2 separate regions of the Homo sapiens genome follow, and region 2 is linked to region 1. The links are contacts of gene promoters, found by promoter capture Hi-C in human tissues and cell types (Jung and others, 2019). All regions are on one chromosome and are shown on one strand. The core of a region is centred on a gene start or on the middle of the fragment in contact, and the rest is flanking DNA. Distances in the headings are between cores, read along the strand shown. Region 1 holds the start of MED30 (mediator complex subunit 30). Region 2 has its middle 120 kb from the start of SAMD12.

Region 1 (6,906 bases), core at 2,682-5,181:
CTAAATTCTGAATGTACTATGTATTTTAAAAATTAAAGATTCAAAGAATAATAAACAGAACAAAAGCAATGGTATCTTCCACAAGGACTCTTAATCTGAGATTTAAGGATACTTGGGGAGTATCCCTAAATCTTCCTTTAACCCCTGAAATTTTCAAAATGTATGTGTATTTTTCTCAGAAGAGAGCTCACAGTTTTCATCAGACTCTCAAGTGGCTAACGGACATCTAGTGTATACCAGGAACCACTTCTTTAAAACAAATGCTTAGAAAAATTCTTAGCAGTTTGTATTCACAGCACTTTACTCTCGTAGATCAATAATACAGACGATTACTTTAAAATGTGAATACTAAAAATGTATTAACAAATCACTAGGTTATATATAGTTAAGAATATCCTATTTCTATCACCTCTTCTAGTTTTTTTGGAAATGAAGGAGCCCATTGTTATCTTTTCAGCCAATTATGATAGGCCCCAAAGGGTCCTGGATGAGTGATCACAGATTTCACAAAATGAAAAGCACACATATAATTATCATAGTCCCTCAAAAGCTGGCTTTGGGTCCCAGACCCTACAGTGGCCGAAATGTTGAAGCTTAAGAAGAAACGTATTGCCATTTATGAACTCCTTTTTCTTGAGACAGAGTCTCGCTCTGTCGCCCAGCCTGGAGTGCAGTGGCGCGATCTCTCGGCTCACTGCCACCTCCGCCTCCCGGGTTCAAGCGATTCTCCTGCCCCAGCCTCCCGAGTAGCTGGGATTACAGGCGCCCGCCACCACGCCCGGCTAATTTTTGTATTTTTAGTAGAGATGGGGTTTCACCATGTTGGCTAGGCTGGTCTCGAATTCCTGACCTCGTGATCCGCCCACCTCGGCCTCTCAAAGTGCTGGGATTACAGGCGTGAGCCACCGCGCCTAGCCTATGAACTCCTTTTTAAGGAGGGAATCATGGTGGCCAAGGAGGATTCCACATGCCTAAGCACCCGGAGCTGGCAGACAAGAATGTGTCCAACCTTCATGTCATGAAGGCCATGCAGTTTCTCAAGTCCTGAGGCTACGTGAAGGAACAGTTTGCCTGGAGACATTTCTACTGGTACCTTACCAATGAGGGTATCCAGTATCTCTGTGATTACCTTCATCTGCCCCCGGAGATTGTTCCTGCCACCCTACGCCGCAGCCGTCCAGAGACTGGCAGGCCTCAGCCTAAAGGTCTGGAGGGTGAGCGACCTGCAAGACTCACAAGAGGGGAAGCCGACAGAGATACCTACAGACGGAGTGCTGTGCCCCCTGGTGCCGACAAGAAAGCCGAGACTGGGGCTGGGTCAACAACCGAATTCCAGTTTAGAGGCGGATTTGGTCGTGGACATGGTCAGCCACCTCAGTAAAATTGGAGAGGATTATTTTGCATTGAATAAACTTACAGACAAAAAAAAAAAACTTAAAAAAAAAAAAGTTGGCTTTGAATGCAGGTCCACATGTAATCTAGTTATTGATAAAATACTTTTTTTGAAAAAGTTTAGTTCTGCGTAGAACATGAACCTGTATTATATCTTTTAATAATGTACATTGACAGCAAGTTAGTATTAAAAAGAGGTTAGTAGGAAGAGCTATTAGTCGTGTGTGATGTTGGGTAATTTATTTTTTCTCTCATTAAGCCTCAGTTTCCTTTACTGTAAAATAGGGATAAAAATACTCCTTAAAACTGCTCCTATAACAGGGTACCTGACCAAGGAAAGTACTTCGTAAGTGTTAGGTATTATTCGGTGCTTTGCATATAACAGGACAAAATTTTTTTTAAAGTATGCTAAATTCTGAGACATTATTTAATCCGTACTTTATTCATTCTAGATATGAATCTATTCATTTTTTTAAATTATTGCCAAAGAATGTCATAATTTCTCCTGGATCTCCTTTGTACTATATTTCACATGGTCTTAAAAATTTCCACGAAACTGAATTACTCTTATAATCAGGACGAAAAAAAAAGTCTTGACCAGTTAAAAAAAAAAAAAGCAATAAAACACTTTTTTGGACACCCACAGAAATAAGAGCTGTAAGATTTTTGAAAACTTGGTTTCAAATTTACCCTACCACTGACTAGGTTTGGGCAAGTCACTTTATCTCTCTGAAGTACAGAATCTTCATCTGTAAAACAAAAATAATATCTACTACATGTAGTGGGTAATATAAGCAAGCATTAAAAATGGGTCAGCAAAATGGTGCTGGAACAACTGGATATCCAAATGCAAAACAATGAACTTGGATCCGTATCTGCCACTATGTATACATATTTAAAAACTCACAAAACTAAATATAGGTTGTAGACCTAAATATAAAGCTTGAAAGTACAAAACTTCTAGAAGAAAACAGAAACCCTTTGTCACCTTGGGTTAGGCAAAGATTTCTTAGGTATGACAGCAAAACCAAAATCTATAAAAGAACAAATCAGTAAGCTGGATTCCATCAAAATTTAAAATGTCTGTTCTTCAAAAGACAGTATTAAGAGAATAAAAAGGCAGGATAGACTGGGAGAAGTATTTGGAAAGCATCAAGACATAACAGGTGTTGATGAGGATGAGGAGAAACTAGAACCCTCAAACAGCAATGTTTACATTCCCACTAGCAATAATCGGGACGTAAAATGGCTCAGGCCACTTTGGAAAAGTTTCTTAAAGTATTAAACAGACATGTACTGCATGATCCAGCAATTCCACTCCTGAATCTGTCCAAGAGAAATGACACATACGTTCACACAAAAATTTGTCAGCAAAAGTTCATAGCAGCATTATTTACAACAGCCAAAAAGTGGAAACAACCCAAATGTCCATCAACAGAAGAAAAGGTAGGCAAATGGTGATACATGGATACAATGGAACATTACTCAGCAATAAAAAGGAAATTATTGATGCATTCTTAGTGAAGGATCTCAGACAAAAAAAAAAGCCCACATACTGTAGACTCCGTTTATATAAAACCCTAGCAAATGCAAATTAATTTATGATTACAGAACGCAGATCAATGGTTGCTTAGCGATGGAAGGTGGGAAGCAAAGATGTCAGAGGGGTATGAAGAAACTTTCTGGGATGATGTGTACACTATTTTGATTGTGGTGATAATTTCACAAGTATACAGACTACAGTACACATATATATCAAAACTTTAGGTGAGTGTAGTTTACTGTATATTAACTATGCCAAAAAAAGGAGGACTGTTTTTTTAAAAAAAATGTAAATTCTTCAACTCCTTGGACCTCCCCAGAAGAAATGCTGGAAAAAACATTTAAAGCAACCTAAAGAGGGAAGTGGAGTGCGACCCATCTCTGCCTTGAAAGGTGCAAGAGTTTACAGAGTAACTAAAGAGCTCGATTGAATCTAAAAAAAATTGGCTTCAATTCTGCAGAAATCTGGTCTGGAAAACATCACCTCTACAAATCCGACTTTTGGGGACACTCTTGAGTGTGAATGGGGGAGACCCTACACCTAAGGTTTGCCCAGGGCAGCCCCGATGACATCCACGGGCCCCACGTAAAGAGGAAACCAGAGGCCCTTTCCCTCCCAGCTGCATCCCCCTGGCCTCGCGCGCCCGCCTTCCTACCTGCATGTTCCTCAGGAGCTGGAAGATCTCCATGGTGCGGTACACGATGTCCTGCACTGTCTCCTGCCCGATGCGGCACAGCGACGCCGTGTTGACTTCCCGGGCGGCCTGCTGAGCCTGGGGCCCGGCGAAGGGCCCGGGCGCCATCCCCGACGCGGCCAACGGAGGGGTGGACATGGCGCGGCTGCAGCTTCAGGCCGGAAGGGGCCAGACAGCAGGTGTCAGGGGTCTGCCCGGAATTGGGAGGCTGTGGGGCCTCAGCGTTGGAACCAGCTTGAGAGACCCCCCGCGGCCCGATTTCAAAACAGCGGCCGCGACTTCCGCCCACTGTGACGTAACACGTCAGAAAACGTCATAGACACCGCCCACTCGGCGAACTGTCTCCGAGCGGAGCCGGGCTGGATTGGATTGGACCCCTGGGCGGGAAAGGACGGACGGGTTAAGTAGCCAATCACCAATTGCGCTCCAGCCAGAGGGGCGATGTTCTTGGGGAGCCTGGGGTGAGTTCCCAGAGTTCGTTTCCCAGTCTTGGCTCAGCGTTAGAACCTTCTGTGTTTAGTTCCTTGCGGAGCATTTTCTCTTAACAAGCCTGAGGTTTGTAGTATAACAGCTAAGAGACAGGTTAAAGTACTTGTTGAGTCGCATACAGGTGTAACTGGCAACCTGCGATTCGAATTCAGAAAACAAGATTCCTAAGCTTGTACGCTTCTCTGTGACATGATACGGACTCCCCGATTGCTCTTGGTCCCTGCTCAGATGTTTTATTCTTTGAGTTTTCCCAGTATCTGTAAGCAAAAAAAATGATCAACACACACACTTCTTTCTGACTCTGGCTCTTATTAGTGTCTGATTTTTTTTTCTTTTTCTTTTTGAGATGGAGTCTCGCTCTGTCACCCAGGCTGGAGTGCAGTGGCGCGACCTCGGCTCACTGCAAGCTCCGCCTCCCGGGTTCACACCATTCTCCAGCCTCGGCCTCCCGAGTAGCTGGGACTACAGGCGCCCGCCACCACGCCCGACAAATTTTTTGTATTTTTAGTAGAGACGGGGTTTCACCGTGTTAGCCGGGATGGTCTCGATCTCCTGACCTCGTGATCCGCCCGCCTCGGCCTCCCAAAGTGCTGGGATTACAGGCATAAGCCACCGCGCCCGGCCTACTGTCTGATATTTTATATAGCTTTCAGTTTGTTTACTTTCAGACTTTATCTCACCCTATCTACACACACTGCCAACTCCATGAAAACAGACTATTTTATTCACTTATTCTCAACACCTAGTGATTGGCACAAGTATCAATAAATACTTATTGAATGATTGTTGAGTGACATGATAAATGCAAGAGAAATTAAAATGTCTCTCACAATGTCTCTCACTTACTGTTCATCTCCAAAGTGGGGAAAAGTGAAGAATGTAAAATTAGTGATAGGCACAAACATTGCATTTTTTAGAAGTATCTGAATGCTCCATTGTACGGACTTTCCAGGAAATAGTTACTAAATATGTCATAGGAACCCTGGTAGAGATTTTAAACATAGTAATTCGCAGGTCTTCGGTAATTACCATTCGACAAATATTGGCTGAGCACCTATTATGTGCTGGGTGCTAGGAGTGAAGATAGCGTACTGAACAAACCAGGCAAAAGCCCTGCAGCATGTTTGTCATGGGGACAAACAGAACACTATTGTGATGAGCGTCTTGAAGCAAAAGTTCCTGATATCAGGGTGCTAACAATTTAGGAGATTGAGAACGACCTGAAGGGAGCAGTGTGGAACCTGAAGGTGGATAGGGAAGGGAGTAACGAATGATAGAGTCTTTTCTATGAGGACGAGGAAGGCCAGTGCCAACACCTGAAGTGAAGAGGCCTCCTAATGCTTTCTAGGATCTGGAAGAAGTTCAGTGTGAGGACGAGTGTTAGGAAATAAGGCTGAAGACAGAGGCAACCCTGGAGGATCTTCTAACCCATGTCAAGCAGTTGAGAATTTATGGAGTGAAATAGCAAGCCATTGAAGAGTTTCAAGGTGAGAGGAATAATTTGAAATATTCATTTTAGAACACTTATTCTGGTTGCTAAATGGGGAACAGATGGTGGGTTTCTATTGTCTTCTCTCCCAAAGGGGAATGATGATGATGATCATGACCTGTGCAGAGAAAGGAGACAGAGGGTAACTTTGAATAAATATTTAGTAAGTAGAATCTAGAGAACTTGATAGTAACTGGATCAGGAACATTAAGGAGAGGAAAGAATTAAGGATGGCACGTATTTCTGCTTTCATGTGAAACTTCAGGTGAAGTTTATGTCATTTACCAAGACAGGATACACTGAAGAAAAAATAAGTTTCCGAGAAATTATGCCTTATGTTAATTTCCTATTGCACATGTAACAAATTACCACAAACTTTGTGGCTTAAAACAGCACACCTTTTATTATTTTATAGCTTTTTAGCTCAGAAGTCTGAAATTGTTCTCGCTGAACTACGCTCAAGGTGTTGGCGGGCTGTGTTCCCTTCTGGGGGCTCTCAGAAGGAATCTGTTTCCTTGTCTTTTCCAGATTTTAGAAGGCTGCCGCAATTGCTTGGCTCATGACCACTTCCACCAACTGCAAAAACCAGCTTTCATCCTTTTCAAAGCCAGAATTGGCTAGTTGAATATGCCATATCTCTGGTTCTGAGTCCTCTGCCTCTCTTTCATTTAAGTATCATTTTGATTACATCGGGTCCACCTAGATAATCCAGGATATCTTTTTATTTTAAGGTCAGCTGTTTTGCAGCTTCAGTTCCGTCTGCTACCTTAATCGCCCCTTGCCATGTAACATGACATACAGACTCTGGGAATTAGGATGTGGACATCTTCGGGGAGTAACTAAAATCTGCCTACCACATGCCGCCAATCCAAACTGTCCCTAAATTCAAACTCACATACCTAAAAACCTGACATCTTGACTTGGATGGCTATTTGGCATCTAAAACTTATGTCTAAGAAAACCCAACTCTTGATCCCTCCCAACCTTCTTTACCACACTTTTCCCATGTCATTGTCTGGCACCACCATGCATTTAGTTGCCCATCCTGGCTTCTCTCTTTCCCACCCTACTTCCAAGTCATCAGAAAATAGAATGAACTCTGACTTTCAAATATATCCTATATGTGACCAATTACTTCACCCCTTTCAACCTAGTCCAAGCTGTCTTCTCTTATTTAGAATGCTGGATAACAATCAAGAGTCTCCTAATTGAACTCCCTTCCTGCTACACTTGCCCCATCCAGTCCACACTCATTACAGCACCCACAGGCAAACTTACAAGCTAAGTCAGGTTATGATT
Region 2 (6,906 bases), core at 3,027-5,526, 1.2 Mb before region 1:
GGAGACTGCAGACACCATTTAATGAGCTATGGCAATGGCATACAAATGCAAAGACAGTAGGTTGAACACAGATGGAGTGACAGAACTGGCTAGATGCTGCCCAATCCTGTTTCCTCCTCCTCTACACTCAGGAAGAATAGATTTTCCAGCCCTCTTTGCAGTTCAGTTAGTACCATATGGCTGGATCTGACCAACTGAATGTAAACAAGAGTGATGCATGCTATTTTCAGGCCAGTCCATAAAATATTTTGTCTGATCTTCAACATTTTCTCGTCTCTCATTTTTCCTTCTGTATGCGTTAGTTGTCACTTTGAAGTGACAACATGGCAGAGGCTCAACATGGTGAGCCCTTGAGCTTCTACTTGCAGACAACCACCCAGGATTGCCATCCAATCAGGAGCTTCCATATTTGACTGTGCTGGGAAGCCACAAATTTTAATTGGGTTAAACCACTGAGATGTCAGAGTTTAATTGTTACTATAGAATAGCCTAGCCCAGTATGATCAATCAATACGGTGAAAGACTGGAATACTTTACCTAGCATAACTGGCATCTGGAGAATCATTTTAATACCCCATTTTTTGATAGGAAAAGAGTATTTCATGTAACACATATCGCAAGAAAACCTGGTCATATAATAGAAGCAGGGTAGTATTTTTTCTTTTATACAACTTAATTTATTTTTAAATAAAAATATAATGCCTTAATGTACTTTTAAATAAAAATAAAATAAGAATATAAAAAGTAATAAATTAATTGTGTTAATTGCAATGCTGTGTTTTTTAAAGGGGAAAATATACCTAAATATTGGTCCATTATAATAGTAAACAATAAAATTGCAGTTTCTATTATTTTCTCCTTCTTTCTTTCTTTTTTTTTTTTTCTTTTGAGAGAGAGAGGGAGAGTATTACTCTATCATCCAGGCTGGAGTACAGAGTACAGCGGTACAATGCTTGCTCACTGCTGCAGCCTCAAACCCCTGGGCTCAAGCAATTCTGCCTCACCTCCCAAGGAGCTAGGACTACAGTCTCGTGCCACCATGTCTGAGTAATTTTTTAAATGTTTTATGGTGATACGGTCTCACTTTGTTGCCCAGGCTGGTTTCAAAGTACTGGCCTCAAGCAATCCTCCCACCTCGGCCTCCCAAAGTGCTGAGATTACAGGCGCAAGCCACTGTGTGAGTCTGGTTTCTGTTTCCAGCCTTAACTATATACAAATCTTTCAGAAACTTTGTCAAAATTAATTTTCTTCACATATTCATGTTCAATAGACAATAAATGCTTTTTTGTCCATCTATTCCCTGGTAGTTGATGAAAGAACATGTTTTATTAATTTTAATCTCATGAAATTTCTTTCACATGAAACAGCAGAGATACAAACAGCTAAGAAAATTCTTAACCTAAGTCTAATCCTGGCAACTTTTCATAAAAATTCCGTTTCATAATAAATTCCAGAAATCACATACTTCTCATATCTTTGTTTTTTTGGTATCATTCTAGTCCCTTTCAAATATTTTGACAGTCAAAAAAATTCCCCTAAAATACTTTCAGCAGAAATTCATCATAAACTTCTATTACATCTAGTAAAAACTTCTCTAAGTCTTCCTTCTGCTTTAGAACTAATGTCCAAATCTTGGTGAAAATGATCAGGACATTCAGACATTGACTTCTGATTTCTTCTGACAATGTGAAAGTGGCATCTTTGTTATTTCTATGGGCAATTTTTTCTGATCTGATTTTTTTCCCATGTAATGTCCAATTCCTTACATTTTTCATAGTTGATAGCCTTTTCACTATTTCTATGCACCCGTCTTCCAGCAACAAGCTTGAAGCTTGTTTCTGGTACATCATTAAACCATTTCTGGCTGTCTGCAAACATTTTTGTGTCTGGTTAACTTTGCCCACAACTTCAAACCAGAAACAAAATATAATTCAGATAAGAAAAATTACTATAGCTATCTTTGTTTATCTCCAATGCATTGTCTAAATACAGGAATATACAGTATCATGGGGGTTGAAAATATGAACTGTACCAGAATTAAGATTGAAGGATTCTGAACCATAAGAAACTTCCTCTGGAAATGAATGTGGTAGCTGAGTCCACATGTGTGGGAGGCCAATTGCATAGCTGGGAGTTGTCACAATTAACTTCCACAGAGAATTCAATGTTTATTAAATAAGTGATTTAAATGTGCTAATTTGAAGCACGCATATATATTATTGAAACACAGCTGCAATCACAGCAAATGTTTGCAAATTAGACCAGAAAAAGATCTTTTCATTAATGGTACTTAAGAATTTCTGAGCATGGTGACTATTTAAAAGCAGATTAAATTTTAGTCAATTTTATTGCGTATTTAAGTTATGTATGGGTAATGTACCCCCTCATTGTCTGCACCCCAAATGGACTGTTTCCACTGTCCAGACCTTGGCTGGAACACTGAGGACATATGTATCCGACCTCTACTCAAATATGGATGGATGATCATATAACTATCCAATTACTAGGATGGAAAATAAGCAAACCCTCAACCTTCAACAAACATAGAAAGGGCAATAGGAACAATAAGCTGCGAATGCCTTTATGGTTTTACATCACAGTTTTGCAGATAGCTCTGCAGATAGCAACTATCTGTAAATAGCTGCAGATAGTTATACAGTTTATGATAACCCATTGATCATAAACTGTGTAATGACACAGTATTTCCAAAGGAATTCTTTATAGTAAGAATAAGAATTTCCACCAGATAGAAAAGAGACATTGCACATACAATAGTGTCACACTTAAATCACTTATTTAATAAACATGGAATTATCTGCAGAAGTTAATTGTGACAACTCCCAGCTATGCAGTTGGCCTCCCACACATGTGGACTCAGCTACCACATTCATTTCCAGAGGAAGTTTCTTATGGTTCAGAACCCTTCAAGCCTGATTCCGGTGTAGTTCATAAGTGGCAATCATAAACTGTGTAATTCCACAATAGTCCTAGTTTCAATATTTTCCTGGGAAAAGAAACATTTTGAGAAATCCCTGACCTGTGTGGTCCATTTTCATGGTACTTGAGGCTTCTTTCTAACAATAGATTGTGGCCATTTTCCTTAAGCAAAGCTTTGTTTCCACAGCTTTGCCGGTCTCAAAAGACCAACTCAAATATAGAGAAAAAATATGTCTTTTGCTCAGGTACAGAAACCACATTGTAGGTCAATAAATAGGAATGTCCTCTTGATACCATTTAACCCTACACCTATCCCAAAGTCAGCACAACTTCAACTAAAAGCAGAGCAACCACGTAACTAGTGGGAAGGAGAGAGTAACCAAAACCATCAGGGTCATGGTGGAAGAAACTCAGAAACGCATGATGAGGTAGAAGTTGGGATGCCCGCAGTACATCAATGTCTCCTTTCCGTCTGGGGGAAATCCTTATTCCTACTATCAATAATTTCTTGGAAATACTGTGTTACCTCTATGGGAGAAAGAAGAGCTCTTCTAAGATTTCTAATTTCACCTTGGAGTTTCTTCTGTTTTTCCTCTACCACACTCAGCCACCCCAGAAGCAGTTAATCCTCCTGAAAATAAAATACTTTTGCAGTTAGTCGTTTCCAGTCTTATTTTCTCAGCCATTCTGCTTTCATGCCAGCTCCCTGACTATGATTATATTGATCCATGTATCAGTGAAACAAAGCCCAGCATAAGCTCAAGACCTTGGGTTGTCCACCTCATAGCTCATTTTGACAGACTTAGCTAGAGGTTTGGGTTTTTGTTTGTTTGTTTGTTTGTTTTTCCCTCTGTTTTGTTTCCTTTTTCAACTAAGAATATCTTCAAGTTTAGGGACAAATTTATAGACTTATGTAGTGAGTTCTCTGGAATTCATCTCCGTGCTAGTTACCCCTCCTGCCATGGCACAGAGCACATCAGACCCTTCCTCTGTGAAAAGGACAGATTCCTGGTGTTCTCAAGCTTAGCTGATTGCCACAGCGTGGTGTGGTGTGACTGCCATCTGCTGGCATGGGGCTGACATTACAGGATGGTAACCATGCACTCCCTGGTAAAATAATCAAGAAGTACTTGTTTGGAAAACAAAAGCTTTCTCTGGAGAAATGAAGAACAAGTTTTGTTATAAACCTTGTCCATCTTCAACACCAAAAAAAAAAAATTCTTTTACTCTGGAAAAGCTAAAGAAAAACAGAAAATTGGTTTATGGCAGACTTCCAAGTGTTCAACACAGTGAGGAAATGGGATTATCAGCTACTACCCTTATGACCACAGCAGAACCCAGTAGCATAAAATGAGAAACCAAACCTCACTGACTCCAGCAACAAGTTCCTACCTTGTGAAGCCACTTGTGTGTGGACACTAACACCAATGACAGGTTGAGGGATCTTCCTTAAGATACTGACAATGTCTGTAACATTTTTCTCTTTAAAAGATTGTGTTTTTTTGGAACCCAAGTGACCAAAACATAAGCACTGACATTTAGGGGATGAGAGACTTTTTTTCTCATTATAAAAGCCATGCCTCAATGTTTAAGGATCAGAATCATGCGTAAGAGATGTTTATATGAGCTCGCCTTTAAAATCAGAGCCAGGCACTTTTGCTCAGTCCTGACTTTCTTTCCAAGTCTTATCTTCAGGATGTGTGGACCTGCACAATTTGTGGCAATGGAAGCCAAGTTTCTATTGCTGACTTCAGTGGGCGTTGCTGCTTATTTCCATGTCAAAGAATGGGACCTTGTATAATTGTGAATAGACAACAAGGAAGAATTTCCCATAGAGAACACCCTGATAGCGGAATAAAACTAAACTTCTTGAAAGGGCTTTATTCATTGTAGAAGCAATAAAGTCAACACTGAAGGCACTGTCTGCTGTTAATCAACACAAATTTCTTCATTAAAGCCTATGGGAACTGAATCAAATTTCAAATTTTATAAAACCAAGGGTATATAATAACTATTATATTTCTGCACTTATACAAATGTAATTTTTCTTATCCCCAAATCCTGTTTCTCCCCCAAGCTTCCCCATCTTATAAATGGCCACACATCTGCTCAGTTGCTTGAACCCCAATTGTACAAAATCATCCTCGCAAGCTCTACGCTCTCACTCACCAAACCCAATCCGTCTCCATGTCTTGGCAGCCCTACCTCAAAATCCAAAACTATCTCCACCTCTCTTTATCTACAGGGGCCAGAGGAGTCCAAGAGTCCAGCCCACTTTCATTTTTCTTTATCATCTACAACCATAGCCTATTTAATGGTCCCAGCATCCACTTTTGCCTCTTCATCTTCAATTCTCAGCAGCACAGTTGGAATGATCTTTCTAAACTATAAACCTCCAGGGATGACCCAGAGAATAAAACCTGAACCCCATAGCATGGTTTACAAAGCCCTTCCATAATCTTGCCTCTACTTATTCTTCACTCTCTCAGCTTCCTCCCTTCCCACAACTCAATATACTGCAGGCACTCTGGCCTTCTCTCTGTTCTTCCAACTCTCCCAGGCTGCTCCCACTTAGGAGTTCAGATTTGCTTATTTCTCTGTATGGCACCATATTCTTGCACGTCCAGCTCCTTCTTTTCATTTCAGTGTCACAGAGAATATCACTGCCTCAGGCCAGTACACCTTCCTGAGCACCCTGTGAAAATCAGTCCTTTCCCTTCTGGATTTCATAACTCCATTTTACTTGCTTCATACCATTGATCCTATCAGCAATTATCTTGTTCCTTTTTTTTCACTTTTTTACTTATATTCTAGTATTGGAATGTAAAGCCATGAAAACAGAGACTTTGCTATCTCATTTAACATTGTATCACCAGTACTTAGATTAAATCTGGCTCATATTAAATACTTAATAAATACACGTAAAGGAAGGAATGTGTGTGCACATTATCCATCTAATTACATTTGCCTATAATTAAGGTTTTCTCTTATAAGGAAGAATAATTGGCACCTTTTTAGGAAGAATCTCAAATTGGATCATGTGTAAGAGCTTGAGCTCTGATATCAAGCACTATTGGTTGGTGTCTTAGGTGAGGATAACCAGTATCAGATACTGAGAAAGAATTTGTGTGCAAATTGTTCATTAAGAATGGGATCTCCAGGAAACTTATAAGGGACAAAAAGAAGGAAAATAAAGTAGGGAAGAAGCCAAGGATGGGCATGACCTCAAGCAAAAGGTTTGATGAGGAAAAATACAGTCCAATCCCAGTGGGGCATGCTGGAGTGGAAGTTACCCCTCAAAATCATCTCAATCTGAATCAAGCATGCTGGAGTTTCATAATCCAGCCCAGGCAGGCATTGGCTAAGAGCCATCAGGGTGGGTACATGCTCCCAGGCCCTGCTTGTGGGCAATGCAACTCTATTATACCCAGCCCCACCACTCTTCGGCACTCTGACTTGGGGTATGTGGAATAACGTTTCTAAGAATGAATTTATGAGTAATTTTCTCTTGGAAAATTTTGTGCATTAAATGAGATAATGCATATAAGAGAACTTTGAAAATAGCTATTATTTATGATCTGGTTTTTAAAAGCAATTTGAGGGTTAAAAACAACATCTAGGAAATTAGGTTCTTACTTAGGAATAGAAACTCTGGTATATTGTCCAGTCCTATATATACAAAATTGAAAATAGAAGTGGGGAATGTAGGGAGAAACACTGCATAGTAGACTTAGGAAAATAAAAAAGCAACATAGCATCAATACGATGCTCACTTTTGTGAATATACTTGTAAGTTTTCTACGGAGACCTCTTAGGGTCCTGGAATATTGGCAGAAAAGAAAGAAGTTTGGCTTTCTGAACACACAGGAGGTGAGAGGTCCAACAATTTTCAGTTCCTTTAGAATAAGAGAAGTGGGTTCTGCCACAGTGATAACAAATGGATGCAGTCATCTAAAATATTTATGTTTG

What was found. Contacts are between HindIII fragments. The study calls those that stand out against the background at their distance.
Region 2: a contact is called between a fragment that was not itself captured here and the fragment with the promoter of MED30 in region 1, in 1 of the 25 tissues and cell types used here (hippocampus).

The regions. Positions count from the first base shown.
Region 1 is chr8:117,517,738-117,524,643 of GRCh38, reverse strand. It overlaps MED30 (mediator complex subunit 30), which reads right to left and starts at 3,931. Exons shown (of 4, transcript NM_080651.4): 1 at 3,591-3,931. The coding sequence starts at 3,767. LOC105375716 (a long non-coding RNA gene) reads left to right here and starts at 3,924. Exons shown (of 7, transcript XR_928569.3): 1 at 3,924-4,090; 2 at 5,467-5,605. It also overlaps the pseudogene RPS10P16. The HindIII fragment of the contact is 5,716 bases long and covers 1,465-6,906 here.
Region 2 is chr8:118,740,889-118,747,794 of GRCh38, reverse strand. No RefSeq gene overlaps it. Among named protein-coding and RNA genes, the nearest start is that of SAMD12, 120 kb to the right of the region's middle. The HindIII fragment of the contact is 3,609 bases long and covers 2,472-6,080 here.